2 separate regions of the Homo sapiens genome follow, and region 1 is linked to region 2. The links are contacts of gene promoters, found by promoter capture Hi-C in human tissues and cell types (Jung and others, 2019). All regions are on one chromosome and are shown on one strand. Each heading gives the region's core, a stretch centred on a gene start or on the middle of the fragment in contact. The rest is flanking DNA. Distances are from core to core; before and after follow the strand shown.

Region 1 (4,846 bases), core at 1,007-3,506, 1.1 Mb before region 2:
AAGCTTTCCAGTGATTGCTGTCATCTAGGATGAAGTTCCTGCTCCTTAGGCTACCATTTAAAGCCCCCATAGCATGGCCTCAATCTACTCCGTTGATCTACGTGGAAGGACTTAACCTACATTTTACTTTCTCATGCCTGAGCTTATTCTAATTCTTTTACTCCTTCCTATATAATACCCTTGCCTTCCTGTTCAGCCTCCTGAGCTGTTCTTTGTGCTATGGCCCATTTCAGACCCTGTCTCTTCATTGAAGCCTGTATAGTTATTCCTGTTAGAAGCAATCATCCTTCCTTTCTTTGAATTCTGGTAGGTACCGTGATGTGGAGTGAACCACGAGCTTTAGATTCAGAAATATGTGAGTTTGAATCCTTTGACAGTTCCACCTTTAACCAGTTCTGAGATAAGGGACAAGTTTATCAACATCTTGGAATAGAGGGGTAATAGAGTACCTGCATCAAAGGGTCATTGTGACCATTAGATCAGATGCAAACATAAAGGTCCTCAGCACAGCATATAGCAGATTCTTTCCTCAGCACTTTAATAGCTCAGTGGTTCCCAGAAAGTTTGTGGGTGGTGTGAAGGCTCTTATCAAAATTTCCTAAAGAGCCTTTTAAAAATATTTGCACCTGGTCATCACTAAGATGACAGATGCTCTTTAATGGAACTGAATGCTTGGGACTTTAAGAAATGCAACTGAGATTTTTTTTTTTCCCCCTTGGAACACAACTGAGTAAATAAGTGACCTAAGGGCAGAGGAATGTAACCCAAAAGAGGGAGAAGGAGGAACTGGGTTTTTAAGTAGGAAAAAGCTGTGATGCCTTCCACACCCACTCTGTTGCTGTCAGTGAGACAGCAGTGAGGAAGTACCACTCCCTAGTACAACTCCTTAAACCATGAGTCCTGAACAGCCCTTCACTAATCCATTCCCTGTCCAGATGATGTGTACCTGGATGAGTCAGATCCCCATGAGTCAATCATTCTTCTCCGTCTTCAGCTCCTCCATCCTCACCACTCAGTGCTATGTGCTATGGTCTGGCCCCACTTCCCAGGCCATTAGTATTGGCCTAAGAAAGCAAGACTGGGAGGGGCAACTGAGAAGGAAGTCAGAGGCCACTAGGCATGGAAAGAGGCAGGTGGGGCTGTCATTGCTCAAAGGCCACACACTCTGGGTGTGTTTTATGACTGTTCCTGGATTTGAAATCTTTTCCCCTTTGTGATCATTCCAGAGACTCACCCTCCTCCTGCTTCCTTCTCATCACACTATCTGTTCCTAGTGCATCCCTTTTACGGCCAGAGAATGGCTGTACAAATAGTTAACAATTCAGTAAAAGTTACAGCTGAGCACGGTGGCTCACACCTGTAATTCCATCACTTGGGAGGATGAGGAGGGCGGATCACGAGGTCAGGAGTTGAAGACCAGCCTGACCAACATGGTGAAACCCCATCTCTACTAAAAATACAAAAATTAGCTGGGTGTGGTGGCACGCACCTGTAAGCCCAGCTACTCAGGAGGCTGAGGCAGGAGAATTGCTTGAACCTGGGAGGCGGAGGTTGCAGTGAGCCAAGACTGTGCCACTGCACTCCAGCTTGGGCGACAGAGCGAGACTCCATCTCAAAAAAAAAAAAAAATTACTTTTTGGGAGAACTGGGAACCTGGCCTTCCTTTTTGCCAAAAGAGATTGAGGTCCATAAAAGCCAGCTTTTATTCCGGGCTGTGCAGTTGTGAGTGTGGTGTTAGGGAACAGGTACATAAGTGAAGGGTAAGACAGAAAACAAAATGCTGGCTGTTTGTCAAATCCTGAGAGTAGAGGGGACAAAAATCATTCTGAAAGGTGGATGTCATTCAGGACACCTTGGAAATCTTAGGGTGTCCTCGCCCAGATGGGGAGGAGGATGAGGTTAAATTATGGAGTTGAGTGACACTTGGTACATTACTAAACTTCTCTGCTTCAGTTTTTTTTTTTTTTTTTTTTTTTTTGAGACGGAGTCTCACTGTGTCGCCCAGGCTGGAGTGCAGTGGCATGATCTTGGCTCACTGCGCGCTCCGCCTCCCAGGTTCATGCCATTCTCCTGCCTCAGCCTCCGGAGTAGCTGGGACTACAGGCGCCCGCCACCACTCCCGGCTAATTTTTTTTTGTATTTTTAGTAGAGATGGGGTTTCACCGTGTTGGCCAGCATGGTTTTGATCTCCTTACCTCGTGATCCGCCTGCCTCGGCCTCCCAAAGTGCTGGGATTACAGGCGTGAGCCACCATGCCTGGCCCCTGCCTCTGTTTTTTTAATCTGTAAAAATGGGGATGGTGACACTCAGGATTCTTTGAGAGGACTGGAGCTACATGGAAACCCCTTGGGATAGTGCCTGGCGGATAGTGAGTGCTGCATCAGTGTGAGCTATTATAATTATGGGAATAGACAAAGGTGTCACCCGGGGCATCCAGAGTGAGGAGGTATTTTCCAGTCAGAGTCCTGGGAGGCCAGCTGGAGATGAAGCTGGTGAAGGGGGAGGCTTAACCTCCAGGAGTGGAAGGATTGGGAAGGAGTAACTCATGCATAACATTCTGTGAAAATACCTTTACCCAACAGCAGGAATACGCACAGTGGGTGTGGCTTCTGTCACAATTATTGTCCCTGGGGTCTAGGAATGTGAAACCCAAGCCTAGAAACAGGCTTCAGGGGTGCCTTGCAAATTAGCATTCATCTTGCCAAAGGAAAATGTTCATCTTGTTAAAAGAAAGCATTTACGTGCTAAAAGAATCCCTTCTTGTGGCCCAGGTCATTATTTTTGTCTTGGTACTATCCTTTTTTTTTTTTTTTTTTTTTTTTTTTTGAGAAGGAGTCTTGCTCTTTTGCCCAGGCTGGAGTGCAGTGGTGGATCTCAGCTCACTGCAAGTTCCACCTCCCGGGTTGACACCATTCTCCTGCCTCAGCCTCCCAAGTAGCTGGGACTACAGGCGCCCGCCACCATGCCTGGCTAATTTTTTTTGTACTTTTAGTAGAGACGGGGTTTCACTGTGTTAGCCAGGATGGTCTCGATCTCCTGACCTCGTGATCTGCCCACCTCGGCCTCCCAAAGTGCTGGGATTACAGGCATGAGCCACCGCGCCCGGCCTGTACTATCCTTATTTACAAGATGTAAAGAGAAAGACTGGGCTGGGCTCAGTGGATCACGCCTGTAATCCCAGCAGTTTGGGAGGCCAAGCGGGGGCGGATTGCCTGAGGTCAGGAGTTCGAGACCAGCCTGGCCAATATGGCGAAACTCCATCTCTACTAAAAAATACAAAAATTAGCTGGGTGTGGTGGTGTGTGCCTGTAATTCCAGCTACTCAGGAGGCTGAGGCAGGAAAATCACTTGAACCCAGGAGGCGGAGGTTGCAGTGAGCCGAGATCGTGCCATTGCACTGCAGCCTGGGTGACAAGAACGAAACTCTGTCTCAAAAAAGAGACTGAAGAAGAGTGAAATAAGGATATATATGCATTAGCAGGGCAGAATTGGGACTGGTATGTGTACGTTAAGAGGAAGCATGTAAAAATTGTATGTGAACATAAAAAGGACTTCTTGTTTTAAACAGACCTCTCCATATAAATAATGTGGACTGTCTTGAGTAGATAGCAGACTCCATCACAAGAACATTCCAGCAGAATCACAAGAGAATGGATAGTGTGGCCGCTTTCTAAATGGTAGTTTAGAGTGAGCAAATCACTGAAAAGAAAGGAGACCAAGAAGATGGGTGAGGGTGAGAGAGATGGGATGGTGAAAGGAAAAGACTGAAATAAATGTTTACCGAGGGCTCACCAGGTACCAAGCTGTGTGTCTAATGCCTTACACATGTTTTTTTTTTTTTTTTTTTTTTTAAGATGGAGTCTTGCTCTGTTGCCCAGGCTGGAGTGCAGTGACGTGATCTTGGCTCACTGCAACCTCCACCTCCCTGATTCAAGGGATTCTCCTGCCTCAGCCTCCTGAGTAGCTGGGATTACAGGCGTGCACCACCACACCCAACTAATTTTTGTGTTTTTAGTAGAGACGGGGTTTCACCATGTTGGTCAGGCTGATCTCGAACTCCTGAGCTCGTGATCCACCTGCCTTGGACTCCCAAAGTGCTGGGATTACAGGCGTGAACCACTGCGCCTGAACAATGCCTTACACATCTTAATTTACTCTTTTATTGTCATCCTCTGATGGAGTAAGAGTCACCTTTGTGCTGCAAATGAGAAGAAGCTGAGGGAGGCGAGGTGAGTGGTCAGCATCATCCAGCCAGTTCATAGCAGAGCTAGTGTGTTTCACCTCAAAGTTTGTGCTCTTGCCTATGATTCAGACAGAAAAGTGAGACACAGCAGGAAGGCAAGGCAAATTTTTGTTGTGGGTGAAGTTTATAAAAGGTACCTGTATTAGGCAGAATAATGGCCTCCTGAAAATATCCACATCCTAATCCCTGGGACCTGTGCATTTTACTTTATTTGGCAGAAAGACTTTGCAGATAAGATGAAGTTAAGAATCTTGAGATGGGGGAATTATCCTGGATTATCTGAGTGGGCACATTATAATCAGAAGGATCCTTATAGGTGAAAGAGGGAGGCAGGAGAGTCAGGGTGAAAATGATGTAGCATGAGGAAGACTCCACTGGCCACTGCTGGCTTTGAAGATGGAAGGGGGCCATAAGCAAAGGAATATAGGTGGCATCGAGAAGCTGGGTCGGGCAAAGAAGAGGATCCATTCCTTAAACCTCCAGAAGGAAACCTCCAGAAGGAACACCGCCAATGCCTTGATTTTAGCCCAGAGAAATCTATTTTGGACTTTTGACCTCCAGAACTATAAGAACTGGGAAAAATGTATGTAGTTTTTACATTCC
Region 2 (5,435 bases), core at 1-2,500:
AAGGAAACTCCTTAAATGCTGTTGACTTAGGAGTTCCGCCAGTGCCCCACCTGCCCAGAGCCTCTTGCCCCAGTGCCCCACCTGGGTTTATGGTGCCCCCCTCCCAGAAATATGAGCTCAGGGGTCAGAAACCCAGGTCCTGAGGTCCCTCCTCCCCAAGGACTCAGGATCCCAGGCCCCCAGTCCCCTCTTCCCTTAAGTTTAAGAAGTCCAGGCCACCACCCTCTTGGGGACCCAGCACCCAACTCACGAAGCGCCCGAAGCGGATGGAGTCTCCATCCTCAATGTGTAAGTCAGCCTGGGCCCCACTAAGGCGGGAGATGACAGACTGGCAGCCAGGGAGGAGGGAACGGAGCAGCCCCGAGCCTGTAATGTGGTCCGCGTGGCAGTGGGTATTCACTGGGAGAGAGAGGAGGGACAGGTCCGGAGGGTACAGAAAGGACCTGGGAGTCCCAGCCCAGATCCTTCTCCCTCAGACTCAGGAGTTCTGGGCCCCAGCTTCCCATTCCACTGACGCTGCAGCCCAGCCCCGCTGGGATCCATGAGTTTGGTCCCCGGACTGACCAGCATAGAGCAGCCGCAGCCCCAGCTCCTTGATCAGCTGGGCATCCCGAGGCGCTGTTTCCAGGACTGGGTCGATCAGAACGGCCTCCCGGGACTCTCTGTCACCCAGCAGGTACGTGAAGGTGCAGCTCACAGGCTCGAACATCTGGGAACGGGGGACCCAGGTGAGGGCGCAGAACCGGACTTCCACCCACTGGAGGCCAAGTAGTCCAGACTGACCCTATCCTCTTCCTAAGATCCAGAAGCAGAAACCCCAGCCCACTCTTTCCCCGGGAGTCGGGAGTCCGGAGCCCCACTACCTTCCCCTATCAGAACAAAAGAGTTCCAACTTCCTAACATCCCAAAATCAGGGTCCCCAGCACGTTCTTTCATAGAGGACCCAGGGGTCTGGCCCCAAGCCCAGAGGCCCCCAGACCACTCACCTTTAAAGGACCCAAGAGTCCAGCCCTAAACCTCCACCCCGCTTTCCGCAAGATGCAGGCGTGGGTCCCCCCGGATCTCTCCCTATTAAGAGACCCCGGAGTTCCGTCCTTGCTGCCGCCTAGTGCCCAGCAGTCCCCTCCTAGGTCCAGCCACCCGCACCTGCCGCAGGAGGATGGGGGCTCCAGACCCGCCGCGCTGGCTCAGCTGCCGCCGGGCGACCCTCAGTACAGCCTCCGCCATCGCGCCCACTGCGGGGTCAGGAATGAGCGGAGGCCGAGCGCCTGCAGGAGCCGGGCGCTACGGCACTGACCCCGGGAAGGGCGGGGCGGGGGCGGAGCACGCCTTAAAGGGGCCACGGACGCCTGGGGCAGAGGGCGGGGGACCGCCGAGCGGGACTGGGGCGAGGGCGAGACCGAGGAAAGCCAGAGTGCAATGCCTGGACGCTTTGAGACCCAGAAAAAACAGAGAACAGGGAGACACTCAAAGTGCGAGGGACAGACGCTCAGAGACACACAGACATACTCATGTAGGAACAGAGATAGGGAGAGAAGTAGAAACCCAGGGAGAGGCCCCAGTACACTCATAGCCTCGGGGCCGTTTTTTTTCCTTTTTCTTTTGTTTTATTTTGAGACAGAGTCTCGCTCTGTCACGCAGGCTTGAGTGCAGTGACTCGATCTCAGCTTACTACAGCCTTAAACTCCCGGGTTCAAGCGATCCTCCAACCTCAGCCTCCCGAGTAGCTGGGACTATGGCACGTTGCCACCACACCCGACATTTTATATATATATATTTATATCTATATATATATTTATATACATATATATATATACACACACACACACACATACATGTATATAAAATTTGTTTTTTGCAGAGACGGAGTTCTCACTATGTTGCCCAGGCTGATCTCGAACTCCTGAGCTCAAGCGTTCCTCCCACCTTGTCCTCCCAAAGTGCTGGGATTACAGACGTGAGCCACCGCGTCCCGTGGGGCCGTTTTCTAGCAGGTGGTAGGATAGTCATGGTTAGAAAAAGATGTTCGGTTCCGGGAGGCAGAGGTTGCAGTGAGTAGAGATGACGCCACTGCACTCCAGCCTGGGCGACAGAGGGAGACTCTGTCTCAAAAAAAAAAGATATTCGTTCGGTTCCAGGTCATTAATATCTTGAGGGACTTTTGAGTGGGTGCCTGGTTACCAGAACAACACTTGATCCCATTAAAGTTCATCCAGAAATTGCATAAGCATTTTATCAGGAATGTTTCTCTCTTTCCAGGAAGAAATCTTAAAAAAAAAAAAAAAGATAATTTTGCATTATCTCTTGAATAATCAGATTGGGGATTATTCATCTTCTGTTGGGGTGTGAACCTCTGAAAAGAGCTTGTGTTCATTTACACCAAGGACCTGGGGCTGAAAAACTGTAGTCTCAAGTCATGAGCTGTCAGAAAGTCTGCTCTTTGTAATCGTAGCAGTAGTGAGAATAGGACATCCCACTCTCATCTGGAGGATCTATGTCACTTTGTGACATCAGAGCAGCCTTGATTTCCAGCCTAGGGGCAGAGCTTTTTTTTTTTTTTTTAATTGTTAGAATTTTTTTTGTAGAAACAGGGGTCTTGCTATGTTGCCTAGGCTGGTCTCCAGCTCCTGGCCTCAAATGGTCCTCCCACCTGGGCCTCCCAAAATGCTGGGATTACAGGTATGAACCACTGAGTTATCCTGTCCCACAGCTTCTGAGGAGGGGTTTCCTGCAACAACATTTATCTTAATTCTGGAGTTTCCAGGGAATGGTCCCTGGAGCTATTTTCAGAGCAGCCCCTGTGTGAATGCCTTTACACAGAGAAGGCCTGCTTTTCCTTAAGCCTATCAAATTGCTTCATTAAAATTTTATGTGGCCGGCTGGGCGCGGTGGCTCATGCCTGTAATCCCAGCACTTTGGGAGGCTGAGGCGGGCGGATCACGAGGTCAGGAGTTCAAGACCAGCCTGACCAACATGGTGAAACACCATCTCTACTAAAAATATAAAAATTAGCTGGGTGTGGTGGTGCACACCTGTTATCCCAGCTACTCAGGAGGCTGAGGCAGGAGAATTGCCTGAACTCGGGAGGTGGAGGTTGCAGTGAGCTGAGATCGTGCCACTGCATTCCAGCCTGGGTGATGGAGACTCCATCTCAAAAAAAAAAAAAAAAAAAAAAAAAAAGCATATGGCTGAGCTCATGCACAGGCACTTTGAGCACTTTGGGAGGCCTAGGTGGGCAGATCACTTGAGGTCAAGAGTTTGAGACAGCCTGGCCAACATGGTAAAACCCCATCTCTACTGAAAAAAATAAAATAAAATACAAAAAAATTATCTGGGCGTGGTGGGGCACGCCTGTAGACCCAGCTACTTGGGAAGCTGAGGCATGAGAATCATTTGAACCCAAGAGGCAGAGGTTGCAGAGTTTGCAGTGATCCAAGATTGCACCTCTGCAACATAGCAAAACCCTGTCTGGGCAACAGAGCGAGAGTGTCTAAAAAAAAAAGGCCAGGTGCGGTGGCTCACGCCTGTAATCCCAGCACTTTGGGAGGCCAAGGCGGGTGGATCACGAGGTCAGGAGATTGAGACCATCCTGGCTAACACGGTGAAACCCCGTCTCTACTCAAAAAAAATACAAAAAATTAGCCGGGCATGGTGGCGGATGCCTGTAGTCCCAGCTACTCTCGAGGCTGAGGCAGAAGAATGGCGTGAACCCGGGAGGCGGAGCTTGCAGTGAGCCGGGATCGTGCCACTGCACTCCAGCCTGGACGACAGAGCGAGACTCCGTCTCAAAAAAAAAAAAAATTCCAGGCATGAGGTCTCATGCATGCCTGACTCAAGCTAGACAAAGCTGAGGACCCAGAGGTGACTCAGTCTGGCTGGTAGGCGAGAGAGGTAGGGAAAGCAGGTCTGAGACACAGGGAGGTGTAGGGATTTGGGGAACTCAGGGGAGGGAGGAGCCAGGGAAAGGAAGACCCTCAGGCACTCCTTACTGAGAGGGTCCCCCAAATAAGAACTTCTCGCCCCTGGCACCCTTTCCCGTTGTTTTTGCAGAATTTCTAGACCATTTATGTGTCCTTTGAAGACACACCCTAGGCAGGGTTTATAGGCTCAGCTGTGAGATGTTCTAAGAGTTAGACTTGGCTTCACCCTTCTCAGGTGTAGGACCTTGGGCTGAAAACTTATCTTCTTCTGGGTTCCAGTTTTCTTATCTACAAAATGAGGTTGAAAATAGTTCAATAGCCTGACATAGCACAGGCTCTCAATGGGAACTGCCCATCATTATTTTGTCACTATCCTTGACTCCTTCCTACCCTTGCCACCTCCACCCACTTCCAGGCCCTGCTGAGTTAAACTCTCTCTCTTTTTTTTTTTTTTTTTTTTTGAGATGGAGTCTTGCTCTGTTGCCCAGGCTAGAGTGCGGTGGTGCAATCTCAGCTCACTGCAACCTCCGCCTCCTGGGTTCCAGAGATTCTTCTGCCCCAGCCTCCCAAGTAGCTGGGATTACAGGTGCACACCACCACACCCAGCTAATTTTTGTAGTTTTAGTAAAGATGGGGTTTCACCATGTTGGCCAGGCTGGTCTGGAACTCCTGACCCCAAGTAATCCACCTGCCTCAGCCTCCCAAAGTGCTGGGATTACAGGGCCGAGCCACCGTGCCCAGCCAGATTTAACCTATCTTAACCAGGCCACTTTTCTGTTATCACACCCTCTGCCCCATTCAAGGGGCAGCAAAGCATAAATGCAAATTGCCTGGACTGCAGGGCCAGGCTGAGGGATTCAAATCCTGGCTCTGATACTTCCTGGCTGGGATGACCTTCCCCTCCACACTTCATTTTCCTCCTCTGTACAAGGATGATAGTAGCACCTCCTCTTAAAACATTGCTATGGGGATTAAATAAATTAATGCACATAAGGACAGTTTCCAGTGTATAATAAGTGCTAGCAATTAATACTGTAATTAATATATAACAATACCCTCACTGGTCTTCTGGCTTCTACTCTGCCTTCTTAAAATCATGGTTCTTGAAAATAGCTGTGGCCCTAGAGGTTGGGCGCGGTGGCTCACACCTGAAATCCCAGCACCATGGGAGGCCGAAGTGGGCGGATCACCTGAGGTCAGGAGTTTGAGACCAGCCTGGCCAACATGGTGAAACTCCATCTTTACCAAAAATACAAAAAAAAAAAAAAAAATTAGCCAGGCGTGGTGACGGGCACCTGTAATCCCAGCTACTCAGGACGTTGAAGCAGGAGAATCACTTGAACCTGGGAGGTGGAGGTTACAGTGGGCTGATATCTCGCCACTGCACACCAGCTTGGGTGACAGAGCAAGACTCCGTGCAAAAAAAGAAAGAGGTGGGCACAGTGGCTCACCCCTGTAATCCCAGCACTTTGGGAGGCCAAGACGGGTGGATCACGAGGTCAGGAGATCGAGACC

The links. The method cuts DNA at HindIII sites, captures the fragments that hold promoters and counts their contacts. A contact is called where the count stands out against the background at its distance.
Region 1: a contact is called between a fragment that was not itself captured here and the fragment with the promoter of ETHE1 in region 2, in 1 of the 25 tissues and cell types used here (dorsolateral prefrontal cortex).

The regions. Positions count from the first base shown.
Region 1 is chr19:42,454,923-42,459,768 of GRCh38, forward strand. All of the region lies in intron 1 of LIPE-AS1 (LIPE antisense RNA 1), which reads left to right. Among named protein-coding and RNA genes, the nearest start is that of CXCL17, 14 kb to the left of the region's middle. The HindIII fragment of the contact is 7,822 bases long and covers 1-4,846 here.
Region 2 is chr19:43,525,951-43,531,385 of GRCh38, forward strand. ETHE1 (ETHE1 persulfide dioxygenase) reads right to left here and starts at 1,251. Exons shown (of 7, transcript NM_014297.5): 1 at 1,147-1,251; 2 at 565-709; 3 at 251-399. The coding sequence starts at 1,227. It also overlaps a transcript of ZNF575 not described here. RefSeq lists enhancers at 1-402, 403-907, 423-602 and silencers at 1,213-1,402, 5,205-5,376. The HindIII fragment of the contact is 5,540 bases long and covers 1-5,210 here.